Regions from separate parts of the Homo sapiens genome. Here all the other regions are linked to region 1. Evidence: promoter capture Hi-C in 16 types of primary human blood cells and fetal thymus (Javierre and others, 2016). All regions are on one chromosome and are shown on one strand. The core of a region is centred on a gene start or on the middle of the fragment in contact, and the rest is flanking DNA. Distances in the headings are between cores, read along the strand shown. Region 1 holds the start of ELOVL3 (ELOVL fatty acid elongase 3). Region 2 overlaps SUFU (SUFU negative regulator of hedgehog signaling). Region 3 overlaps SUFU (SUFU negative regulator of hedgehog signaling). Region 4 overlaps SUFU (SUFU negative regulator of hedgehog signaling).

What was found. The method cuts DNA at HindIII sites, captures the fragments that hold promoters and counts their contacts. A CHiCAGO score of 5 or more calls a contact.
Region 2: a fragment that was not itself captured here is called in contact with the fragment with the promoter of ELOVL3 in region 1 in 1 of 17 cell types (activated CD4 T cells); the score reaches 5.4 in activated CD4 T cells.
Region 3: a contact is called between a fragment that was not itself captured here and the fragment with the promoter of ELOVL3 in region 1, in 7 of 17 cell types (activated CD4 T cells, erythroblasts, naive B cells and 4 more). The highest score is 8.3, in activated CD4 T cells.
Region 4: a contact is called between a fragment that was not itself captured here and the fragment with the promoter of ELOVL3 in region 1, in 1 of 17 cell types (activated CD4 T cells). The highest score is 6.6, in activated CD4 T cells.

Annotation. Positions count from the first base shown.
Region 1 is chr10:102,223,484-102,229,980 of GRCh38, reverse strand. It overlaps ELOVL3 (ELOVL fatty acid elongase 3), which reads right to left and starts at 3,682. Exons shown (of 4, transcript NM_152310.3): 1 at 3,332-3,682; 2 at 2,224-2,355; 3 at 1,413-1,564; 4 at 392-1,156. The coding sequence starts at 3,432. The coding sequence ends at 729. RefSeq lists silencers at 1-123, 3,651-3,700. The HindIII fragment of the contact is 5,656 bases long and covers 3,463-6,497 here.
Region 2 is chr10:102,620,337-102,626,833 of GRCh38, reverse strand. All of the region lies in intron 10 of SUFU (SUFU negative regulator of hedgehog signaling), which reads right to left. Among named protein-coding and RNA genes, the nearest start is that of TRIM8-DT, 20 kb to the left of the region's middle. The HindIII fragment of the contact is 4,153 bases long and covers 1-3,740 here.
Region 3 is chr10:102,599,383-102,605,879 of GRCh38, reverse strand. It overlaps SUFU (SUFU negative regulator of hedgehog signaling), which reads right to left. Exons shown (of 12, transcript NM_016169.4): 8 at 6,336-6,447. Among named protein-coding and RNA genes, the nearest start is that of TRIM8-DT, 41 kb to the left of the region's middle. RefSeq lists enhancers at 961-2,160, 5,378-6,128. The HindIII fragment of the contact is 3,650 bases long and covers 3,423-6,497 here.
Region 4 is chr10:102,514,408-102,520,904 of GRCh38, reverse strand. The region is part of intron 2 of SUFU (SUFU negative regulator of hedgehog signaling); the gene reads right to left. Among named protein-coding and RNA genes, the nearest start is that of SUFU, 14 kb to the right of the region's middle. The HindIII fragment of the contact is 4,891 bases long and covers 1-4,877 here.

The DNA.
Region 1 (6,497 bases), core at 2,433-4,932:
CTACCTGGCTGGCATCGGCCACAGCCGGTGCTGCGGCGCCACCTCGTGGTCTCAGGGAGGCTAGCTGGTAGATCTGGTCTCCAACGCTTCCTTGTAGGTGTCAGCTCTGCTATTCAGGGAGCCTATGACTTTAGATAAAGTTACTCCGCCTTTCTGCACCTGTTTCTCACTGTTCCTATGAGGGGCTTGGGTCTCTAACAGCAATAAAATTCTGGTCTGTAACAGACATTTGTTAAGTGCCTACCAGGCCTAGGATTCTTTCAGTGTCTGTGTGTGTGCCTCTCACCCTTCCACACACCCTCAGGCGTCCCACCTGCAGATCATCCCCTTGGTAGCAGCCTCCTGCCATCACAGCAGCCCTCTTTCCCCCCAAATCCCCCAACTCTCAAAATTTTGTTGAAATCTTTAATTTAAAAAAACAGAGCAAGAAGAAGAAAGATTTCTGGATAGAAATTAAATAATCAGCTCTTAGGACCCTCCTCCGCCCCACTCCCATCCCAGGGCCTGCTTGGCCTTCACATTAAAAACAGAAACATTAAAGTAACAGACCACACCCCCATCCCAAGGTCACCCTTCTTGTCTGTCAAAAATTCCAGCCACCTTGGGGCACACATCCTCTGGGGAAACCATGCAGGTAAGGCAACCTAATCATTCTCCCAAAACTAAGCCCAGCCTCTTGGTGCCCTGGAGAAGAGAGAGCCTGGAGCTTCATTGTTCTCTCCAAACCTTCACTGGCTCTTGGTCTTGGCTTTGACCTTGGGCCTGATGTAGGTCTGGCAGAAGAAGTGGGCAAAGAGGATGAAATAGGTCATATACAAGATGAAGGACCAGAATAAGTGTTCCATCGTGGTGTGGCATCCCTGATCCTGCCTCCAGATGTACGTGAGGATGCTGACGATGGCTCCTACAAACATCTGCAAGATCTGCAGGCTGGTGATGAGCATGGGCAGCATCTTGGGGGGCTTCACGTTGGCAGCCTTCAGAGTGTAGTAGGTGTACATGATGGCATGAACACCAAAGTTCATGGTGACGAACCAGCCTCCTGCAGGCACTTTGTTCTTGTATCCAAAGCTTGTGTACACGAGCACTGTGCTGTGGTGGTACCAGTGAATAAAGATGAGTGGCCGCTTACGCAGGATGATGAAGGCTGTGTCTCCTGGGAGATGGAGAGTCATAGTTGGCATACCACCCAGTGCTGGGACCACCCTCTGCACTGGATGTAGGGACACGGGAGAAATTCTCAGGGGAGGGAAGGGGGTCTTTGTGGCAGAGAATCTGTAGAGGGGCTTGGGTGAGAGGTATTATTGGGACCCAAGGGTAGGAAAGAGACCCTCCATGGGATGGGTGAAGGGAGGGCCCTGAGGAAGGATGCAGTTCACAAGGCACCAGAAAGACAAAGCTTTGCCACTCACCGAGTTCTATGACCTTGCTGAGAAGAAAGACCCAGGACCAGAATTTGACTGTGGAATTATCGATGAAGTTGATGAAGCACACGGTTTGCTTTAGGCCCCCGGTAAGTAGCACAGTCCCCATAATGCCCCACATCCTCACTGCCCCCAGGATACTGAAATGGGACAAAGGAAGATGGTGTAAGTGTCATCCCCAGGCACCAATAATCCACCCTTCCCCCGGCTTGGCCAGGTTACTGTGTTCCAAGCTCTACCACCTCCCCACCTGTCCACAGGGGGTGGGTCAAAGCTCCTGAGATCCTGAAGCCAATCTGGTAGATCCAATCAGTAGTCTAGAGGAGACGAGGGCTGGAGAAAGATCAGGGAATGCAGGGGGATGGGACTGAAAGTTGAGTTAAGGAATGGGGTTCTTGGGAGGGGTTAGGAGCCTGGGAGGAGATGTGTAGAGGGATAGGGGAAGACTGAAGGAGTTTGGGGGAGAAAATATGGGGAAGTTATTGGAGGGTCTTGAGAGAGGGTGTTAGGAGGTGACACTATTAGAGGCTGGAGAAATTAGTTGCGAGTACAGACTCTACGAAGGCAAGAGGGACAAAGCAGAGACCACCAGGTAGGGGTCTAAAAGAGAAGGAAAACAGGATAATATAACAGAAGAGGGTGAAGGCTGGGAGGGGAACTAAAGCCGAGAATGAGATGGGGAGAGTGTTACAAGGCAACTTGGGGACAGGATGGAGGTTGATGCAATCGGGAAAGCTTCAAGGGATAGAATGGTGGTCTAAGATCTAGAGAAGAGGCAGGGAGTGGGATGGGGTCTTACCTGAAGATTGCAAGGCAGAAGGACCAGAGGATGAGAGGCCCTTGCAGGTTGAAGCCCTTGCGTTCCTTCATGTAGTTCTGCCCCACAGCGATGAGAACCAGGTAGATCAGGGCTATGGGGAATGAGGTTGCCCTGGCAAGCAGAAGGCAGAGGGATGGGCTCATGGGTGGGTGCTGATTAGAGAAATGCCCACTCATCTCTCCAGGTGAGTGCTCTGGGTTGGAGTCCCAGTTCTGCCACTTACTAGCTATGTGACATTGGAAAAACCAACTTAATTCTCTGAGCCTTGGCTTCCTCATTTGTAGAGCGCGAATACTACATCTCTCCTGGGGGTATTAACGTATACAAAGTATCTAGCACAGGGCAGGAGCTATGTCCAAGGTTTCTGTGATTATTGCTCTCTCAGTGGGGTTAGAGGTGGGTGACGGCTGTCTGGCCCGCGCCTAGAAGCAGCCCAGGGCTGTGGTGTAAGAAGTGTGGCAATAGCTTCTCCCTGGTTGGGGCTCCTAGAAGCATACCAGGGCTGTGGCGTAAGAAGAATGTGGCAATAGCTTCTCCCTGGCTGGGGTATGGCAAATTGGTTGGAGCATAAAGTCAGCCTCCAAAACCTCTGGGGAGCTTTAAGGCAAAGCCAGAGAGCTCTTCCTGGGGAAAGCTTGGAAGAGCTCTCTGACTTCGCCTCCTTCTCCACAGCAGGAACGGTGGAGCACCTGGGGAACGATGGGATAATTGTAAAGGGCAGGCTGTCCCCCGGGCCCTGCACTGTGCACACACGCGCGCACACACAGCCACAAAGGACGGGGAAGTCATCTAGTAAGGCTTCAGATCAACCTCACGCCTCCAAGACCCTTCTCACTACACGCTCTCTTTGACTTCTGTATATTTCCACGTTCTCCCTCATCCTCTTATTTCTGCTTGCTTGCTTTCAGCTCTAATCTCTTTGAGGTGCCACATACTACCTGCACCTCGGACAAAGGTAGTGTGAAGCCAGTACAAGGGAGTCCCATAACTCTGCTCTGTAAGAAAATCATTGTGGGCATTCAATGCCACCCCCTCGCGCCCCGGCCCCGGGGCCCTGGCATGGCCTTTCCCTCTCCCAAAGTCTCACCAATACTCCTCGAAAAAGGGCCTCATGTCCTTGGACAGCTCGAAGTTATAGGGCTGGAACAGCTGATTTACTTCATGTGAGACATTCATGGCTGTGACCATCTAGTTTTGCAGAAGTCAAGGTCCAAAGCTTGGAGGCGCTGGGTGAAAGGCTGGGGCTCCGAGGATGGCGTGAACCTCGGGGCGAGACGGAACAGAGCCGGGACAGAAGGAACTCCTGGGCAAAGGGAGGAGGGCGTCGAACCTAGGCATGTGCGCGGCGGCGCAGCCAGCTATCCCGGGCGCAGCCACTGCGATATATAACGCGGACTTGCAAAGCTGCCTGCCCGGGCTGGCGCGACCTCTTTCCTGCGCCCCGCCGCTATCCAATCTCGACCAAGATACGCCTCTGCTCCGCCCCTGGGACGCAGTCCGCATTCTGATTGGTCATACTCAAGGGCCCGCCTGCCAGGCGTTTCGCACACCCCGCCCCAAGTCCCGTCGTAGGCCATCGCCCGCCCACTTCCCCAGCCTTTTCTCCCGTAAAACGTCCACCCCATCCTGTGCGGCCTTGCGGGTTCCCTTGGAACTGTCAACCGTGGCCTTTGCCTCGGTTTGCTTTAATCTTGACCTGCTTAGCAGTGAAGAGAGAGGAAAGGTGTCCTTAGGCTTTGGTGCTCCCACCCAGAAATGGAGGCGTCAGTTTCCAGGCTCCCTGAGATCCTGGGAAACCCAGGCCTGTGATGAGCAAATACTAACCTGGGCAACGCAGAGCTTCTGTAGTCCCTTCCACCTCCTAGCTTCGAGTCTGCGGTTGTGAGTGGGTGGAAGGAGATGAATTTTAAGGAGTTTTATTGTTGAGGTTGTTGATGTTGATGTTTGGGTTGTTGAGGCTGTTGTGGTTTCTTTATAGTTTCCTGAATTCCTGAACTGCTCCAGACTGACAGTAATAACCATGGAGAGAGGAAATGGGGTCACCCTCTGGGCTTCTGGAATTATTGTCTTCAGGTTTCCTGGAGGCCTCTTAGGGTTTAGGGAGGGGGAGAGCCAGTGTATCTCCCCAAGGCCTGTTGTTTTCTCTCCCTAACCAAATCTACTTCTTTCTCGCCTGTGTAACCAGCCCCAAAGAAATAAATGTTCTAAAACTTTTAAAAGTTTTACTTGGCTGTCCCTTATTTCTTTCCTAGGTTTTATGAAAGCGAAGGAGAAATACAAGGCTTGAGGGCAGTTTGAGATAAGGTGGAAATTTGCAAAAAGTGCTAAGAAACATAGATATAAAATAATTAAAATCAAGATGTGGGTATAAATGGCTATGTGCAGTAAAGCTCTAGAGCCAGAGGATCCAAGTAGGAACCCCAGCTCTATTTCCTGAACCTCAGCCACTGTCTATGCGAGGGTGTAGTGGAAGTCCTATCAGTGCCATCTAAGTGACTCAAAAGTGCATCTCTTTGTCTCTGTACCTCATCACTTCTCACCTGGTCACGTTACCTGGTTGCACTGCCTCTTTCTCTAATACAGTGCTTCTGCTCTTCACTGCATTGCAATCAGAAAAGAGTTCCTATACCTGGCTGATTACCAGATTCCTGAGCCTCAACTGCAGAGATTCTGGTCCTATAGGTTGTCTCAGACTGTACTTGGAAAACCACTACTTTCTGTTTGCTCATCCAGAAAACAGCTCTGCTTTCCTGCTTAAAAACCTTCAGTGGTTCGGCCGGGCACGGTGGTTCACGCCTGTAATCCCAGCACCTTGGGAGGCCGAGGCGGGCAGATCATGAGGTCAGGAGATCGAGACCATCCTGGCTAACACCGTCAAACCCCGTCTCTACTAAAAAATACAAAAAATTAGCCGGGCGTGGTGGCAGGCGCCTGTAGTCCCAGCTACTCGGGAGGCTGAGGCAGGAGAATGGCGTGAACCTGGGAGGCAGAGCTTGCAGTGAGCAGAGATCGTGCCACTGCACTCCAGCCTGGGTGACAGAGTGAGACTCCGTCTCAAAAAAAAAAAAAAAAAAAAAAACCTTCAGTGGTTCCTGATGGCTCCATATATAGCCTGACAGCTAATCAAAAGGTGATCAATACATGTCTATGGATGAATGAATAAATAAAAGAATGAATATTACAAGAATAATGCCATCTAGGTCTTACAAGACCCAAGTTCAAGTCCCAGCACCCCCATTAATGAGCCATGTGATTTTAGGCAAGTTACCTAGCCTTTGTCACATTCTACTTCAGAAAAAAATGCATATAGTCATACTCGCCTGCTTATGTCACAAGGTTGTGATTAGTATGCAAGCCAGATAATGTAGATAAAATGATATTGTGGACTAGACACATGGAAATGGCAAGGTGAATCATTATGGGAGGTTTACAAGTGCATATGGAGAATATATACTCAGTCCTGGATTTCTCTGTGAAGATATTTAACATTGTCTTTCCCTGTGAGGTTTAATGGTGAGGCTTGGAGGAGGTGTATGTGGAAGAGGGAAAGAAGAACACTCGGGGCTGGGCACGGTGGCTCACGCCTGTAATCCCAGTACTGTAGGAAGCTGAGGTGGGGGGATTGCTTGAGCCCAGGAATTTGAGACCAGCCTGGGCAACATGGTGAAAATCCATCTCTACAAAAAGTACAAAAATTAGCTGGGCATGGTAGCGCCCACCTGTGGTCCCAGCTACTCAGGGACTGAGGAGGGAGGATCACTTGAGCCAGGGAGGTCAAGGCTGCAGTGAGCTGTGATCGTGCCACTGAGCTGTGATCACACCACTGCACTCCAGCCTGGGTGACAGAGTGAGACTCTGTCTCAAAAAAAAAAAAAAAAAGCTAGGTGCAGTGGCTCACGCCTGTTATCCCAGCACTTTGGGAGGCTGAGGTGGGCAGATCACCTGAGGTCAGGAGTTCAAGACCAGCCTGGCCCACATGGTGAAACCCCATCTCCACTAAAAATACAAAAATTAGCTAGGTGTAGTGGCGGATACCTGTAATTCCAGCTACTTGGCAGGCTGAGGCAGGGAGAATTGCTTGAATCTGGCAGGCGTGGGTTGCACTGAGCAGAGATTGTGTCACTGCACTCCAGCCTGGGCAACAGAGCGAGACTCTGTCTCAAAAAAGAAAAAAGAAGAGGAAAAATCTTCAGAAATTATATTCTAGAGGAAACATTCCTTGACCCTTGGACTTGGTCTGGTACCCTTATTTT
Region 2 (6,497 bases), core at 415-2,914, 400 kb before region 1:
AGAAAAATTAAAAGGAAAAAAAATTAAATTAAAGCTGCTGCCCAGTCAGGCTCTAGTGTCCCCCTCTGCCCCTCACCGTAGAAGGACAAAAGGAAACTGTTTGGATTTGGAATACAAGCCCTATCTGGAATCTGGAAGTGCCCTGGAAGGTACATCCAAGAATGTCTGAGCTGGAGAATCTGGAGATTGTGGACCAACGTCTCATTTTACAGATGACAAAGGGACTCCCAACTTCCATTCCCATTCACAGTAGCCACATCCTCCCAGGCTGGAAGCTCCCAAGCCCCTGACCTGCTGTGCTCGATCAGCCACTGAGTTCCTCCAGCCTTCTTTGAGGTTCCTCTTCTCTAGGTCACCTCCCAGCATTCCACGTTGCTGTTCTAGTCTGACACCTCATTGCCTCTCGCTTTGATGCTGAGTCTGGCCCCACTATTTGGCTGGCACAAACACCAACTTCATCCGCTAAAGAAGTTTTCACAGCCAATACCAACGTCCAAGGGCTCTCAGGCCCTCTAAAACCGGCCTTCCTCAATCTGCTGGGCCATTCTTCCCCACCCACCCCTCTCGTCAGGCTGCTAGGCAGAGCCAGGCCAAGCTGATCCCAGGTCTGCACCCCACCACGCCCTGGGTGAGGGTGTCTTTCCTCTTCCAACTGTGACCCCTTCCTTCACCCCTCCCCCTCCCTGTCCTTGTCCCCAGGGCCTCCCAGCCTCCCTCCACTGCAGACCCTTCTGTACCCCCAGGCCACAGCTCTACCTGTCTTCTCCCGTACACCTTGAGCACCCAGGTAGGGCACAAAGGAAGAAAGATAATGGGGTGAAGATCCAGGTGAGGGGCTCCTCTGAGGGGAAACCCTCCCTGTGAGGAGGAGAATTGAGAACTTGAAAAAATACCCACCAGGTTTCCCCTGGGAATTGTCAGCTGCCAAGAACAAAAGTTTCCACGCTGTGAGATAACAAGGAAGGAGTGCACACAGGAAGGTGAGCACACAGGACGGCTCGGGAGCTCACAGGACGGAGGTCTCTAAAGCAAGAAGTGGACGGGGTGGAGGAGGGAGTGAGAAATAAGAACACTACCCCCAAGTGAGCAGAAAAGCCGCCATCATACCGGGCATGCTAACTGCTCATCTCCATGTCTCCTTACAGTGGAGGAAACAGGCACAGGCAGGTTATGTAATTTGCTCAGTGTCACACGGCTTGTGAGTGGTTAAGACCATATCCTGATCATGTCTGGACTCTCAATTTAGTGCCTGGAGTACTGCTCCCGAATGCTGAACTCTCACCCCCAGGACACTAACTCATCCATTCATCCTTCCAGGGACACAGGCATGAAGGCAGCTCATTTCCCACCAGGACAAGCACCCTCTTTTGGCTGGCAAGGAGACAAGAGACCCAGCCTTCCCAGGCTCCAAGCCCATAGCAGGAACAAAATAACTCTGACCACTGGTCCACGTCTCCTCACCAAACTCTCTGTTCTAGGAGCTAGGGCCCCGACCAAGGACAGAGACAAGGCTTAGAGACAGAGCAGGAGAGGCAAAGTTGGCAAAGTTCGGGGAGGTGCACCCCTACAGTTCTTCCTAATTCCCCAAAGTGGGACTGGCCGACTCTGCCCACAGACTCCAGCCATACACGTACTCCCTCTCACAGCCTAAGCCCTTGCTCCTCCTACTCTCTTATCCCAGGGGTGTCCTCCCCAAAAGTTCAGTTTCCCCACCAGTTATCACCAGTCTGCTCAAGCAATACAAAAGTTACATTCATATTTTTGGCATTTCCGGGGCTCGTTGCCATCTCTGCAAATGCTAGCACAAACACAAGCATACCTAAAACCCAATTATATTACAATGGCTCCAGTCTGGGCCGGGCTGGGCTAATTTCTAACTCACAAATAACTTGGAGGGAGGGGCTTTCTGCCAGATCAGTAAATAGATGTGGGACTATAACAAGTGCTGGGGGTGAGATGGGGTGGAGGGAGGACAGGAAGAGGGGCAAGGGTTCACAGAGGCTGTGGCCACCCAGTGAGACGCCAGAGTTATTCTTCAAGGAAACGTAATGCCACCAACACTGAGTTCAATTCTAAGCTGGTTCCCCTGACAAAGGTCTGGAACTGGTGCTAAGGAGAGGGTGAGTTATGGTGGCTTTTAGTAGAGCAACGACCATGCGCGGCACCATCTGTGTGTGGACTTATTTTGGACTCGGTTGGGGGAGGGGATGGCCAGATCAAAAATGAGGACAAACCCTAGCTGCTCCTCCATTTTTGCTTTTGGTGATTTGCTGGTTCCCGCTGGAAACTTCACGTTATTTTAAAAGAATTAAAGGGGAAAAATTATACATGAGATCTACATGATATTAAAGGTGACATTCTCTGCAAAGAAACACGACAGACTGTCATAGCTCCAGGCACCTAATTTAATTTCCTTTGGGAGTTAAACCTTAGAAGGTTGGATTGAACAAACAGGCCCTGTTCTTTGTATATTTCAGACCTGGAGCTGAGAATGTTAACAGATCTTATCAACAGGACACTGGAGATAGACAGCTAAGATGGGGCAGCTCCTGGGAGCTCTCCCGAGTAACAGACTTGCCCTTGTGATGCAACTGTGGGAAAAGCCTGTGCAGTTCTGGGGCTTGGCACTCCTGAGGCTCACTGGGTCCCTACAGAGCTGCTTGGCTCTGTCACGAATAATAATGGGAATGGTGATGATAAAAATGACAGTAAAAATGGCCAATAGCAGAAGCAGTACCTCCACCATGTGCTAGGCGCTGTGCTAAGAGCTTGATCAGTGTCATTTCATTGAATCCTTATGGCAGTTCTGCTAGGGAGGTGACTATCATCCCCACTTTGCCCAAGGGTAGGTACCCAGAGGAGACAAGGCTCTGGACTTTTCTTTTTATTTTTTAGATGGAATCTCTTGCCCTATCGCCCAGGCTGGAGTGCAGTGGTACAATCTTGGCTCATTGCAACCTCCGCCTCCTGGGTTCAAGCGATTCTCCTGCCTCAGCCTCCCGAGTAGCTGGGATTACAGGTGACCATCACCATGTCCGGCTAATTTTTGTATTTTTAGTAGAGATGGGGTTTTGCCATGTTGGCCAGGCTGGTCTTGAACTCCTGACCTCAAATGATCCATCCGCCTTGGCCTCCCAAAGTGCTGGGATCACAGGCAAGAGCCACCACGCCTGGCTCAAGGCTCTGGACTTTAGAGGAACGGCTATCTGATCTCATGGTGATAGAGGATGCTCTTTTCCTGTCTGGGGAAGACACCCCAACTGTAGAAGCCTATATAGATGGGGATAACTTCTCTGTCTTCTGATGAGGGAGGTGAAGGTAGCTTTGGTTTTTACCAATGACCTGGAAAATCAGCAGTCCCAACCTCCACCAGCCACACATTTCCTGGCCACCTGCTCAACTTAAGAGGGCTAGAAGCCTGAGAGTCACAGACACTGCTAAAAAACCAGACTGGCCAATGAAAAGGAAGGCAAACCAATGCCCAGAGATGGTTCCCAAGTGGGGACGGTGGGGCAAATTCCCAGGCCAGCCTAGTGAATACATATATCTTGACAGTTCTCTAGCCCAGAAAGTAGCAGTAGAAATAATATTGATAACAGCACTCACTGATATTTGCACTTACCAAGAGCCAGGCAGAAAACACTTATGTTTGTACACAAACAGCCCTCAGAGGGAGGAGACCCTCTAGTAAGAGAGGAAGACCCTCAACCAATCTGAGCAGCACACTCCCCTGGGAAGCTTCTGAAAATATGGCGATGCTAGGCCCCATTCACACTTCCTGAATCAGAATACTCTGGGGTAAGGCCAAGGCCCATGCTTTTTTTTTTTTTTTTTTTTTTTTTGAGACGGAGTTTTGCTCTTGTTTTCCAGGCTGGAGTGCAATGGCACGATCTCAACTCACCGCAACCTCTGCCTCCTGGGTTCAAGTGATTCTCCTGCCTCAGTCTCTCAAGTAGCTGGGATTACAGGCATGTGCCACCATGCCCAGCTAATTTTTTTTTTTTTTTTTTCTTCTGAGACGGAGTCTCACTCTGTCACCCAGGCTGGAGTGCAGTAGCATGATCTTGGCTCACTGCAAGCTCCGCCTCCTGGGTTCATGCCATTCTCCTGCCTCAGCCTCCCAAAGTGTTGGGATTACAGGCGTGAGCCACTGGGCCCGGCCAGGGGCTGGAGTTTTGTCTGCTGTTTAACAGCAGACAAACAAGCTGGGACTACAGGCGCCCGCCGCCATGCCCGGCTAATTTTTTGTATTTTTAGTAGAGACGGGGTTTTACTGTGTTAGCCAGGATGGTCTCGATCTCCTGACCTCATGATCCGCCCGCCTCGGCCTCCCAAAGTGCTAGGATTACAGGTGTGAGCCACCGTGCCTGGCAATTTTGTATTTTTAGTAGAGATGGGGTTTCTCCACATTGGTCAGGCTGGTCTCGAACTCCCGACCTCAGATGATCCACCCACCTCAGCCTCCCAAAGTGCTGGGACTGATTACAGGCGTGAGCCACCGCACCTGGCCAGCACTTGTATTCTTAAGTGGTGCCCCAGGAGATCATGGTGAGGGGCTGCTGGGGAAATACTCAGGCCCACAGGGAAAGGGGGTTTGGGCACAGGCTTAACCAACAGGGGTGAGTTGGTGGCTGTAGCTTCACCACCATCAAACGGGCTGAGCTGCGAGGGGGGCAATGGATCTTGGTTACCCCCAGTTCCCACCTTTGGCCAGGGAGGGGGGCTTGGAATCTAGGCCAGCAGCTACTCCAGTGGGCTCACACCAGCTGCCTTAACCAGCTTGGCTGGGTGGTGGTGAGGGAGGACTGTCAACAACCTCCCAATTCCCCAGGCCCCAGCAAGTTCCAGAAAGGAACCCGAAAAGTGATCTTGTGTCAGTGCCTGCCCTGGGCAAGCCAGGCTGCACTGCAGGCAGGGGCCCAGCTGCTGCAGATCTGACGCCGATTCAGATGTCTGTGGTCAATGATATTTCTGAGTCTGCAAAGAGTGGCTGACAATGCCCACTCCTTCCCTTTGGTATGACAATCCACACTTTGTCCAGGGCATTGTTTGTTCTTCATGTTGACACGTTGTACTTGCTTCCCAACAAATTTGGCTTTCTTTTCCCTCCCTTTCCTCCTCTCAGGGAAGGAAATGTGTTGTTTACAGTGGAAGAGCCTGCCAAGGAGCTGCTCTGGCACCCACGATGGCAGTGGAGGAGGCAGGGACGGGGAAGCAGTCCTGTCTGCATCCCTTCCCTCCCACCCCCACTCCACAGGCCAGACAAAAGCCAGAAAACAGCCTGGAGAACACCCCCAACCCAGGTCAGGGACAGAGGCGTGTGGTGCGGCAGGTAGCGGGCTGCAGTTGGGGCACAGGTCTCGCTCATTTCCTGTTCTTAGTGGGCGGTGAAAAGTTGGCTCTGGTGGCCAGAAGCGGGCTCAGACTCCTGCTCTGGCTGTGGGCTGCCAGGGACACAGGGCGGCATCACAGTCCTTTCCTACAAGGGAGGGTACTTCCCCAGGCGCATTGCTGGGCTCTAAACCTTAATGGGTGTCCCCCTGGACAACAAGGTCTCGGGGCAGTCCAAGCAAAGGTCTCCAGGGAGAATAAGTATGCCTGGGTTCACCCGTGGAAGGAGGAACAGTAGAGGCACCAAAGAGGAGGTGCCCAGGGCATGGGCTGGGGATTCCCAAGTCATCTTCTACACAATATCCAAATGGGTAGCAGAAGGCAGGGCTTGCCCAGAGGAGAGCTCGGCAGCACCTTCCCAAGCCTGGCCTGGAGCAGCAGAGCCCACTTGGAACAGCTGCTGGGCGTCTTCTCCCACGCCTGGGGCTTCCCATCAGGACTGGCAGAGAATGGCTGGGACTAGGGGCGCAACCTGGGTGAGCTGTCAGACACCACACAGCTGAGAAAGCATTGCGGGGCCTAAAACAATATTCTCATATTTGGTGATGTGACCCCTATGTGACCGCTGGGGCTGAGACTTATCCCCCTTCAGATCAACCCTGGCTGGGGACGGATGAACAACTCAGCTCTGGGCCGGGCTCCCGCTCAGAAGACTAACAGCCCAGTGTTGACAGGCTCAAGGGAGAGAGGCTTGTTAAAGCCACCAGGATGAGGAATGCTGGGGGAAGGAGGTGCAGGAGCAGACCTTGGCAGGCCCCCTCCCAGGGTCTGAAGAGCCTCCTGCACAGCCCCGGAATTGGCTGATAAGCTTTACAGTCTCAGCAAGGATGAAAACAGCAAATGGCAGGGCAGACGGAGTCAAGGTGCTGTTCTCCAGAAAGTGAAAGCCTGTGGAACTGGAGCTGGCTTCCTGCACCCCCAGATCCTCCATAAAGCAGGGAGTGTCCACTGTGCTCCACCTGGTGCTGCAGACAAGCCCTGCTTTGCCACATGCTGGGGCCCTGACTCTCCTGGGTCTGGACTGATGGGGGAAGGCTGTGGAGCAGGTGGGTGTGGAGGCCTGTCTGGGGCCATTCCACAGGCTCCGGAAAGGGGCTCGGGTTCCT
Region 3 (6,497 bases), core at 3,998-6,497, 370 kb before region 1:
ACAGGAACCAGGGCATCAAGCTTGGCAACTATTCACAAGTGAAGTGGATTTGGCCTGCTGAGCCCAGCCCAACCTCTGGCTTCTGCCCCTTGCCTGGGAGATTCTTCCTTTTGCTTTCTGATTGCTGACGAAAGCTCTGAACTTTCCAGAGAAAGAACCACCTGCAGGTCTCCCTTTAAGGCAGAACTGGAAAAGGGTGTGGCTGTGGGATCGAGGGAGAGGGGACCAGCTCACCTCTGAAGTTCTTATTAAGCACAAGGCTGTATAACCTGGTTATTCTGACAAATTTTCTTATAAGGACAATATAGGAGTAAAAGGCCACAAAAGGTGAATAGTAAACACCAATAACCAAATGACAAAATGCAGTATTTTCTTTTTTTGCTTTGAGACAGGGTCTCAGGCTGGAGTGCAGTGGTGTGATCACGGTTCACTGCAGCCTCAACCTCCCAGGCCCAGGCAATCCTCCCACCTCAGCCTCCTGAGTAGCTGGGACTACAGGCATGTGCCACCACACCTGGCTAATGTTTTGTAGAGATGGGGTTTTGCCATGTTGCCCAGGCTGGTCTCGAACTCCTGGACTCAAGAGCTCTTTCTGCCTCAGCCTCCCAGAGTGCTGGGATTACAGGTATGAGCCACCACACCCAGTTTAAAAATGCAATATTTGGCAGGGCACAGTGGCTCATGCCTGTAATCCCAGCACTTTGGGAGGCTGAGGCGGGCAGATCATAAGGTCAGGAGTTCGAGACCAGCCTGACCAACATGGTGAAAACCCATCTGTACTAAAAATACAAAAATTAGCTGGACGTGGTGGTGTGTGCTTATAATCCCAGCTACTCAGGAGAATCGCTTGAACACAGGAGGCAGGGGTTGCAGTAAGCCGAGATTGTGCCACTGCACTCCAGTCTAGGTGACAGAGTGAGACTTCACCTCGTGTTAAAAAAAAAAAAAAAAAAAAAAAAGGCAATATTTTCATCGGGAATATCCCAAAGGTAAAATGTGATCATGAAATCATGAAATGGTGGGACAGAGTATGGCTAAAGAAGTCAGGGTGAGTAAAATCTGCATCAAGGTTAGGGGATTTCCTAGTCAACTATTAACTCCTCTGGGCACCAGGGGCCGCCATCCCCAGCCCTACCCTCTGACTTGGGTGGGAGATTAGGACCCCTACTCTCCTGAATGAGCTTACTCTAGCCAGAACCCCAGCTTTCCTTTTTCTGAGACACTGAGTCATTTCCTTTCTCTAGCTCTTACCTTTGAGCCTTCCTTTTCCCTTCCCTGGAGAAGTGACTCACTGCTGAAGTGTTGGGTGACACCGAGGATCAAGGATGGGCGATAAAAATACCCCTGATTGTGCAACTCGAGGGAGGGGGATGCAGCGTTTGGACTGAGAATTCAAGCACCAGCAAGGAATTCTGAAGTTGAGGTGTTAACAATGGCCGTGACTTCATCTCTTTGGGGAAGCGGAGCAAAGAACGGAGTTAAAACAGAAATTTACCCATGCCAGACTTGCTGTGGAGCCCCTTGCTCTGCCCTTTCAAATATGTATTTCTGAGAAAGGCCTGTAAAGGCACTTGGCATGACAACATGGATCACAGTGAGGGAGGCAAAAAGGAGCCTGCTGTCCAGGACGCAGGGAGCAGAGAGGCCTGGGCTGTTCCTCTCATCAGCCCTGCAGAGTCTGGCTGGGGCCCTAAGAGAAGGGCTGTTTCTTTCTGGGCTTTCTTTCCAGTGCAAGCAACTGTACTTCCCCAGCGTGGGAGTGTGAGGGAAGCCAACGTGACAGAGAGGGCTCCAGGCTGGCCACTGCGCTGACAGGAGAGACCCCTTGAAGCAGGGTTACCCAACACTGCCCTTCGTGCGAGCGGCACCAGCCACAGCCCAGCTGTTTCCCCAGATGGAAACTCACCTTCCTTCACCCCAATTCACTGGTAAGTTGGATGCAAACAAGATATTTTCTTCCTCTAATTAATCTTCATGGACCTCACAAGCTGAGCAAAACAAAACACAATTTTCTCTAAAGGATGACTCCCTGGCCAGGTTACAAGGTATTCAAGATGGGAATTAGAGGGAGCAAAGTCACCCCAATCAAAGGCCAAACAGACAAGTGCAGAGACACTCCTAAGAGTAGAGAGAAATCTATGTATATGTGTGTGTGTGTATGTTGGGGAGGTGTTGCAAATGTGAATGTTACAGCAGAGGAATTCATGGTACAGAATCTTAATTCTCCATGAAATTAAGGCAAAAAAAATTTTTTAAAGGTCTTAAAAGCTGCTGGTGTGATTCTAGAAGACTGAGAAACTCAGCAGTGATGGTGAGTTCGCTTTTTAGAGGTGCCTCAACTACAAAGTGCTTCTCCCATAGTCAGGAACTTTTCCCCTCTAACATAAGTGTGCACACCTGCATGTGCCCTGTCCCTCTCTGGGAGGGCACACAACTCAGAGAGCTTCCTAAGAGTTCCCAGCCTCAGGTGGTAAGTCACTGGCTGAGGGAGGAGGTGGCCCTAGAATACTGGTGCAGGTTCCCAGCATCTGAGCAACAGTTTAGAGAAATACAGGCCAGGTGTGGTGGCTCATGCCTGTAGTCCCAGCATTTTGGGAGGCCAAGGTAGGAGGATCACTTGAGGCCAGGAGCTCGAGGCTGCAGTGAGCTATGATCTTGCCACCACATTCCAGCCTGGGTGACAGAAGGAGACCCTGTGTCTAAAAAAAAGAAATAAATAAAAGAAAACCTCTACACACAATTCACCTGACCACACGTATCTTCTGTGCACTGTAGAGAGACCAGACTCCGTAGACCATGTCTGACCAGGTGACCTCAGACAGAGAGGATGCCCAGGAACTTTTCCCTCCTCAAATCTCTACAGATATTGGCAGGCACAGTCTTTAAGCCAGGCTGTCCTCATGTGGCACAAAGGAACTGCTTCCCATCCTTCCCAAACTCACCCGAGCAGGCAGTGGGAAGGGAGGCGCCAGCAAGCTGAAGGAGGCTTTTCTCAACTGATCATCTTGGGAAAAGCCAGATACAGATTTCATGGCTGGAATGCAAGGGTTGTGAAATGCTGAAGAAGCCCCAAAGAGGGCCAAGGACTCTCCTTCCGGGAAGGCAGTGGGAGGAGGGCTGGCAATGAAGAGTAGGAGAGGAGCGGGTTACCCAGGGGGCCTGCCTTTCTGGAAAGGAAGAAATAGACCCTCAAAATGGAAAGAAATCCCCTAGCCCTGAGGTGGTAGAGGGACCAGAGAGAGGGTTGTTTTAGTTTCTGCACATGAAGAAAGTAAGGCCTTGTGTCACAAAATAATTTTGGTATAAATGAGCCAATTATGACATAGCTTGTTATTTCTGGGATTTGGAATCATCAAGGCTCATGGCATCTCATAGGAGTTATTTAACTCCCCTAGAGTTTAGTTAAATAAGCCCAATAAGCTTCTAATATGAGGCTTTGGCCTTGTCCTTGGTGCCATGTGAGAGGTCCTGATTCATGCTGCAACTAGTTAGATGAATTCTACCAGTAAAGGTCATTATTTTCTCAGAGACACAGTCTGATGTGTCCCCCATGGGGTCCCTGAGAATGGGGTAAGGAAGATTACATCCATTTTAATGGCTGATAGATGGCTGTAACTAAGCTCTACCCCTTTCCAACCTTGGAAAAGATACTTATTAGCCTCTCTGTACCTCATCCATTAAAGGGGAATATGTAAGATTATCGACCACAGGATGGCTATGAGGATAAGATAAATGAATGGCAGCACATAGTAGCTGGCACATTACCTAGCACAGAATGAGCACTAATAAGGTTTTAGCTGCTGCTGAAGTGTGAAAAGAGCAAGTGCTTGACACCCCCAAGTAGGCCGGCACCCGGCTGCTATTGCCCAGGCTTGATCAGCTGCTCTGAGCCTCTGATTTAGCTCTGTATCTTCCTTAGACCACAGACAAACCCGCGAAGACCCATGCATAAGAGCTCCCTGGCCCAGAAGTCCTGACTAAGGGGAAATCAGACCCGCAGACAAAATATGGCCCACGCTGGCTGCCCCCCAACAGGGAGAGGAGCAAACACTGGTGCCAGCACATTTTGGGTCAGCTTTCTCAGTTGCAATCCATGTGGTGTATGTGAAATGGGGTCAGGTCCCAGAGTGGGCAGCACAGATATTACCGTCACGCTCACTGATCTGAACTGAGTCCATCATCATCGATCCTGAGATAACAGGAAACTTGAGTCTGACAGGCTTGAGGGGTGTGTTGGAGAATGTTCTTGGCAAAGGAGGAGGAGAAACCATTTCTCAACCAATTGCTAACAAATTGGTAACCAATACTGACAGCCTCAGAGGAAACATTCTATTCCCCTCAGACTACAGGTCCTGGTGCTTTAGAGACCTTACTGGGCACTAAACCTTCAGGAAGGGGAGACAACCCCGGCACCTCGAATCTATTCTCACCCATCTCTCTGTATCTCAGCCAACTCAAGCCAAAGGGTAGAAGCTGCAGCCTCTCTGCCTTATGTTTACAGAGAACCCTTGGGCCAGAACCAATACCCGACTGCCCAGTTAGGGTGTAGGCTGAGAGTCTCGGCTTATGTGTATATCTAGGAGCACAGAGCCTTGTGCCCCATTGCAATGTCCAGGGGTGCAGTAGCTGGAAGTGCCCCCAAGCCAGGGAGTGAGATCTCAGGCCTGTTCCAGATACACAAGCGGGGCAAGAAGGTTGTATCTCTGCAGGAGCTTGTGCCCTTCTGCCTAGAAACCCCAGGCTTCCAGAGGCAGAGAGCCATCTGGACTGAGACTGTGTCCATGTTATAGGCCTTCCAGTACCTCTGGCCTGCCAACAGTGCCAAGGAGGCCCAAAGCGAGAAGCCAAGCTCAGGGAATGGGAAGGAGTGTAGACCCGGGACAGGGTCCAGACTCACAGGTAGAGAGCTTCCATATGTCGTATGACCTGGTGTGGCCATCTGCTGCTGCCAGGGGATGATCAGGATGCCTCCAGCCAGCTACTTCAGGGCAGCTGGCTGGAGAAACCTACAGGCCGGAGTTAAAAGCTGCTCTGAGGTGGCGGTGGAGGCTTCTCCAGGCTTTTGCCAAAGAGCTCAACTCTCAGTACAGCCCTGTTCCCAGAGTAACTCTAGTTCCAGTCAGGTCCCAGCAGGCAGCCTCAACTTTAACCAGCCAGGCCTCCCCTGTGCTATCCTCTTGAGTTCCTTCCCCTGCTTATTAAAATTCTAAGGTGCCCTCAAGGTCGATGCTATGTTCTTCCTCCTCCAAGATGCCCTCCCTAACTACCCCAGATCCTGTGGACCTGTCTTTTCTGTAGTGCACTGAAGCATTACTACTTCTGGGAAACACGATCAGCAACTAGAGCTAGAATCCAGAGAAGCAGCCATTTCCAACAAATCACATCGACAGCCAGATGCACACCATTAAAAGGTAACTGTTTCACTCATGTTCTCCCAAAGGAAGAGCCTGTGCACCCCAGATGGCCCCCTAGGTCCGAGCTTGTCAGACAGCAAATGTGTAATAAAGACTTCATAGAAGAAGGCTAGATCACCCTGGTCTTGCAGGATGATCAACCTCCCTTTCAGCCCAAGGCACAGCAATTTCCTCCCTGGCAGGCAAGGTTCCTGCTTTGGGCTGCCAGCCCCCAGGTATCTCCTGCCAGCAGCTATTCCCTAGAGCTGCCCTGGGACTAAGGGCAGAGGGGGGTGCCCAGCTTCAGCCCTGCCTATCACTCATCCCCTCTATCAGAGGAAGAGAGGTTGGCAGGAAGCGGATCTGACCTCTAGGGTGGCCACAGTCTCTCCGGAGGGCTACAGGGGCCCCTGGACAGGCAGCAGAGGCCTGCAAAAGACTTCCTTTCCCTTCCCTGGGCCCCAGGGAAGAGAGGCAGGAAGAAGGGCCTCAGCCACAGGCATCCAGTATGGGGCTGGCCAGAGAGGGAGGCCCCCAGGGTTGCAGCTATCAGCCGGAGACCAGGCTCCAGGAAGGAAGGAAGGGCAACTCTGGCCAAGACTGAGATAAGGAGGGAACCGTGCTCAGCACAATGGGCTCCCACAAGGCTGGGAGGCCCCAAGTCAGATTTCTCCCCAACCTGGCCTCCTGTCTGTTCACACGGCTCATGTAAATATTTACTGATGTTAATATTCACGGTCTGCTGGGTCCCCTCTGAGGCCCTCTCCTATGACCCACAGATAGATCTGTGTGCCCCAGACCATGCCTGCCCTTAAGCCTAGAGATCCTGGGCCCATCCAGCAAGGGCTATGTGCATTGTTCTCTCTCATGCAATCCACAGGGACAGGCCCTTCAGAAAAAAGTCGTCCTCTTGTTCCAGCCCAGGGACACTGGGGAACTTACGGGGCCCGGTCGTGGGCGAGGCCATTCTGCCGCTGAGGGTTGATTGGTGGAAGGACAGGTTTGCTGTTGATCTCGAGTCCTCTCCTCAGGGTCTCCCGGATCTGCTCTGTGTCTGCAACGACACCACTAAGTTGCCCAGTGGCCCAGTGGGCTCCCAGCAAT
Region 4 (6,497 bases), core at 1,183-3,682, 290 kb before region 1:
CAAAAAATACTGGAAGCAATCAAGATATTTTTCAAAAGGTGAAAGAATAAACTGTGGTACATAACAAACAATGGAATAGTATCAAGTGATAAAAAGAAAGGAGCTATCAAGTCACCAAAAGGCACGGCGGAATCTTAACTGTATATTACTCAGTGAAAGAAGCTAGTCTGCAAAAGTTACATACTATTTGATTCCAACTCTATGACCTTTTGGAAAAGGCAAAAACTACAGAGATAGTAAAAAAAACCAAACAGTTGTTGCCAGGGGTTTCGGGGGAGGGAGGAATGAACAGGTGGAGCACAAGGAATTTTTAGAGCAGTGAAACTAGTTTGTATGGTGCTGTGATGGTATATACATGACATGCATTTGTCAAAACCCAAGAACTGGCCAGGCACGGTGGCTCACGCCTGTAATCCCAGCACTTTGGGAGGCCGAGGTGGTTGGATCACCTGAGGTCAGGAGTTCGAGACCAGCCTGGCCAACATGGTAGAACCCCATCTCTACTAAACATACAAAAAAATTAGCCGGGCGTGGTGGCGGGTGCCTGTAGTCCCAGCTACTCAGGAGGCTGAGGCAGGAGAATCACTTGAACCCAGGAGGCGGAGGCTGCAGTGAGCTGAGATCGCACCATTGTGCTCCAGCCTGGGCAACAAGAGTGAAACTCTGCCTCAAAAAAAAAAAAAAAAAAAAAAGAAAGAAAAAAGAACTGTACAACACAAAGAGTGAAGCCTAAGGTAAACTATGGACTTAAGGTAGTAATAAGTATCAATATTGGTTCCCCAATGATAACAAATAAACCACAATAATGCAAGGTGTTAATAATAGGGGAAACTGGCCAGGCGCGGTGGCTCACACCTGTAATCCCAGCACTTTGGGAGGCCGAGGTGGGCAGATCACCTGAGGTCAGGAGTTCAAGACCAGCCTGGCCAACATGGCGAAACCCCCTCTCTACTAAAAATACAAAAATTAGCTGGGCGTGGTGGTGGGCATCTGTAATCCCAGCTACTCGGGAGGCTGAGGCAGGAGAATTGCTTGAACCCAGGAAACGGAGGTTGCAGTGAGCTGAGATCATGCCACCGCATTCCAGCCTGAGCGACAGAGCGAGACTCCATCTCAAAAAAACCCCACAAAAATATAAAGTCTATTGATTAAAAATAAATCATTAAAGGAATTTAAAAAATTTTAAATGACTATCTGCATTGATATAAGGATCACTGAGATGCTGGGCACATCCCTGACCACAGAAGCAGCAGCATGACCATGGGAACTTGCCATCTAAGCCAGAAATTTTTATGTTTTTAAAAGTTGCAGACTTTCCTGGCAACTTACTGTAAATGACTACGATAAGGTTGCAGAAGACTTTTTTTTTTTTTTTTTGAGACAGAGTTTCTCTCTTGTTGCCAAAGCTGGAGTGCAATGGCATGATCTCAGCTCACTGCAACCTCTGCCTCGTGGGTTCAAGCCATTCTCCTGCCTCAGCCTCCTGAAGAGCTGAGATTACAGGTGCCCGCCAACAGGCCCGGCTAATTTTCGTGGTTTTTTTTAGTAGAGACGGTTTCACCATGTTGGCCAGGTCGGTCTCGAACTCCCGACCTCAGGTGATCCACCTGCCTCAGCCTCCCAAAGTGCTGGGATTACACGAGTGAGCCACCATGCCCAGCCTGGTTGGTGAAGTCTTGACTTGAGAGATGACACCTGTCACCTGCTGTCCCATTTTACCCTCCTGCCATTGCCCTGAAGGACTCTTTCTTTTTTTTTTTTTTTTTTGAGACAGAGTCTCGCTGTCTCCCAGGCTGGAGTGCAGTGGCGCATCTCCACTCACTGCAAGCTCCGCCCCCCGGGTTCATGCCATTCTCCTGCCTCAGCCTCCCGCCTAGCTGGGACTACAGGCGCCTGCCACCACGCCTGGCTAATTTTTTCTATTTTTTTAGTAGAGACGGGGTTTCAGGGTGTTAGCCAGGATGGTCTCGATCTCCTGACCTCATGATCCGCCTGCCTCGGCCTCCCAAAGTGCTGGGATTACAAGTGTGAGCCACCGCACCCGGCCAGACCCTTTCTTTAAAAGCTGCTTCCAGGCCGGGTGCGGTGACTCACGTCTATAATCCCAGCACTTTGGGATGGCTTGAGCTCATGAGTTTGAGACCAGCCTGGGCAACATGGCAAAACCCAATCTCTACAAAAAGTATAAAAATTAGCCAGGCATGATGGTGCATGCCTGCAGTACCAGCTACTCAGGAGGTTGAGGTAGGAGGATGACTTAAGCCTGGGAAGCAGAGGTTGCAGTGAGCCAAGATGGAGCCAGTGCACTCCAGCCTGGGCGAGAGGGCCAGGCCCTGTGTCAAAAATAAATAAATAAATAGATAGATAGATAGATAGATAGATAGACAGACAGACAGACAGTTAGATAGATAGCTTCTACATCCAGCTCAACATTTCCCCCCACAAAGCACTTTCTGGTTAACTCTACTCAGTCTTGATCATTTCATTCCATTAATCCAAGATAACTTTGAATTTAGCAGCATAATTCTGAATAGAATTCTCCAGCTCTCTGCAGGAGGTAGAAAAAGGAGGTGGTGACTACTGGATCCAGACTGCCTGGGTTTATATCCCAGTTCCAGCATTCACTGGCTGGGTGGATGAGTTCCTTAACATTTCTGCATCTCAGTTTCCTTATGTGTAAAATAAGGATAATAAGTCCTACACCATAGAGTTGTTCTGAGGATTAAATGAGTTTATATAAAGCACTTAGAAAAGTGCCTTATACAAAGTAAGGGCTATAATTGTTTGTAATAATAATTATATGTTTAAAGTTTCTTGGAACACTGAAGATCACAGGATGAGGGGAGAGAGCCTCAAAGTCACAGGGAGACAGGAAGCTGCTCCCAGTCCCAATCCTCACTGTCATCTTCTTTCTCAAGGACCTCACCATCTCCTACCAAGCACATGCTGCATTTTTAAGGGCAGGCGCTCGGTCAGATTCTTCATTGTCTCCACACTCAAACACATCATCTTGTCCAATGTTCTGCCTGTACAGGGGACTCAAGATAGCTCTGCTGGTGAGTGTGCTGCACAGCCTGGTTCTCAAGAGCTTGGTAGGCAGGACAGCAAGCTGCAAAGTTAGTTGGACGGGTGAGGATACCATTCCTCAGGGCTGAGGTCATAGAGGATAAGATCCCACCAGACACATCTCAGGAACAACATCAGAACTGAAACAAGAAATGAAGCTGCACTGAATACCTCAGAGGCAAGATACATGAATGAATTCAGGAGTCAAGGGCCAAAGGCCAGAGTTGGGACCCCTGAATCAGAAAGGTGGATAAGGGAGAGGCTAGCAAACTCAGACCCAGGACATGAGAGGTATGGGGAATAGCATTCAAAATAGATAACAGCACAGCTTGGAAGAGGAGAGCCCAAAAGGGTGGGCTGAACAGGGAAAAATCCCGGGACTGAGAGATCAGATTGCATCAAACCCATAAAGGCTTCCAAGTCTCTTGAGGAAGAGAAGGAACTTTCCCAGCGCTGACCTACCTGGCACCACTCTGGCCTGGTAGTCACTTACAATACCACACCACTCAGTTGTTCTTTTTGTTTGTTTGTTTTGCTTTGTTTTGTTTTTTTGGACAGAGTCTCACTCCTTAACCCAGACTGGAGTGCAGTGGCGAGATCTCGGCTCAGTGTAATCTCTGGCCCCCGAGTCCAAGCGATTCTCCTGCCTCAGCCTCCCAAGTAGCTTGGTTTACAGGTGTGTGCCACCATGCCCAGCTAATTTTTTTTTTTTTTTGAGATGGAGTTTCACTCTTATTGCCCAGGCTAGAGTGCAATGATGCAGTCTCGGCTCACTGCAACCTCCACCTCCTGGATTCAAGCGATTCTCCTGTCTCAGCCTCCCCAGTAGCTGGGATTACAGGTGCCCACCACCACACCCGGCTAATTTTTGTATTTTTAGTAGAGACAGGTTTCACCATGTTGGCCAGGCTGGTCTCGAACTCCTGACCTCAGGTGATCCGCCCACCTCAGCCTCCCAAAATGCTGGGATTACAGATGTGAGCCACCATGCCCAGCTACAGGCTTTTTAGAAGTGAGTTTAGGCCAGTACAGAGGCTTACACCTGTAATCCCAGCACAAGGTCAAGAGATCGAGACCATCCTGGCCAACATGGTGAAACCTCATCTCTACTAAAAATACAAAAATTAGCTGGGCGTGTTGGCGGGCACCTGTAATCCCAGCTACTTGGGAGGCTGAAGCAGGACAATCGCTTGAACCCGGGAGGTGGAGGTTGCAGTGAGCCGAGATCGTGCCACTGCACTCCAGCCTGGCAACAGAGCGAGACTCTGTCTCAAAAAAAAGAAAATTGAGTTTAACTGGGCCAGCTGGACAAGTTTTTTCCCAACTGTTGAGGGACTCTCTGAATTGGAGAATTTGTAACCCTTACCCCATGAAGGAAGAAACAATCCATGCTGCAAATGAAATGCTTTATAAAGGATGAAGCCATGCACCCACAGACATCTGCTGGGAACCCCCACAATACAGGTCTTCCTGTAGCTACAAAAGAAAAGAAATCCCAGCACTTTGGGAGGCTGAGACGGGTAGATCACTTGAGGTCAGGAGTCTGAGACCAGCCTGGCCAACATAGTAAAACCCCATCTCTAATAAAAATAAAAAATTAGCCGGGCATGGTGGCGCACACCTATAAATAATCTCAGCAGAGTCGAGGTCGTGTCACTGCACTCCAGCCTCGGCAACAAAGGAAGACTCTATCTCAAAAAAAAAAAAAAAAAAGAAAAGAAAGAAAGAAAAAGAAAAGAAATTCTCCTCAACATTTAAAAATTCACAAATTCAGAGATTTGGGGCCTGAACTCCAACCCTAAGTGAAAGCTTTGGCCTCAGGAAGGGCTCTGGAGAGTCCCTGTTGGGCCCTGCCCCACACTGGGCCGTGACAAAGGACGCCTCACGCTTGCTTGGTGGTCCAGATCACCTGTTCTTAGCAGGGAACTCCACCATCTCATGCAAATAGTCATCCTGACACTGAACATCCCTGAGAGGAAAGGCAGAGGGACCAGGCTTCAGGGAGGTGTGCCCCCCAATGAGCCTGCAGAACACTTCTTTTAGCCTGCTAAACTTAGCCAGGGGTGGGTCCAGTGGCTTAGGGAGGCATTCTGGTTGCCAGCCTCATGAGAGCTCTAGGAGGAGGGCAAAGGTCCAACCAGAGGAGGGACCAAGCTCCCAGTACAGATGTGTATGGCGAAGAAAGGATCTCTCTTGGAAACGACATGTTAAAAAGTTCCTGCAGGCCAGGCGGGATGGCTCACACCTGTAATCCCAGCACTTTGGGAGGCTGAGGTGGGTGGATCACCTGAGGTCAGGAGTTCGAGACCAGCCCGGCCAACATGGTGAAACCCCGTCTCTACTAAAAATACAAGAATTAGCCAGGCATGGTGGCATGCGCCTGTAGTCCCAGCTACTTGGGAGGCTGAGGCAGGTGAATCACTTGAACCAGGGAGGTGGAGGTTGCAGTGAGTGAGATCACACCATTGCACTCCAGCCTGGGTGACAGAGCAAGACTCCGTCTCAAAAAAAAAAAAAAAAAAAGTTCCGGCAAACTAAGCTTTGAGGAGGAAAAATTAGCATTTCTCAACTGCAGGAGACGGAGGCCACACTAAACAACAAGTGGAAAAGTTAATCTGTATCCAGTGTTTTAATAAATAACTCATGCGGGTGCAGAGCCCAGCTAAGAAGAACACAAGGGAAAGGGAGGCTCTCCACCAACCGGGTGGAGGCAGCCCCAGAAAGCCGGTCAGCGGCAGTTCCAGACCCCACGGGGGGTGCAGAACTGCTCCAAACTCCACTGGACATGTGCGCCAAGAAGTCACATTTGTGAGACAGAGCCTAGATCACCCATGGTGGTGAGGCATGGGCATGACCCATGCTTTTGGGCCAACTCCACACAAAGGCTGTCTTTGGAACCAGCCCGACTTGTACAGCAGATGACCTGCCCTGGGAAAATCCCACCAGGGAAGTCTGCCTGAGTTCTCAAATGCACTCTCCAACTACCCAGCCTTCCAGCCTCGGTTAGGGCCCCATAGGCTCTGTCTAGCCAGAGCTGTTGGTGGTACCAGGGACAGCCAGAAATCCTCACAGAGTGATGCTGAAACCACTTCTACAGCCGCATAGATCCCCACATTCCAGTCCACAGCTAGCTGGCCATGAAGGGGAAGGCCAGAGCTGCAAGCTCCGACAGCACTTGGCAGCTGAGGCTCAGCTGTCTGACACCTCCCAAGTCCCAGGGAAGAGTCCCACAGGACAATTTCTCCACTCAGGTCAGTTGGGAGCAGCCTTGGGGTTCCTAGAAAAGCACTCTGTTCTCTCCTGTGGCTGCCCAGACCTGGAACTTGTTCCATCTCTCCAACTTCAGAAATGGCTTCTTAAGAATCTTGATCAAAACAAGTGCTCTCTTGCCTGGTTTCCTTTAGTGAATGTGAATAAGGAAAGAACTTGAA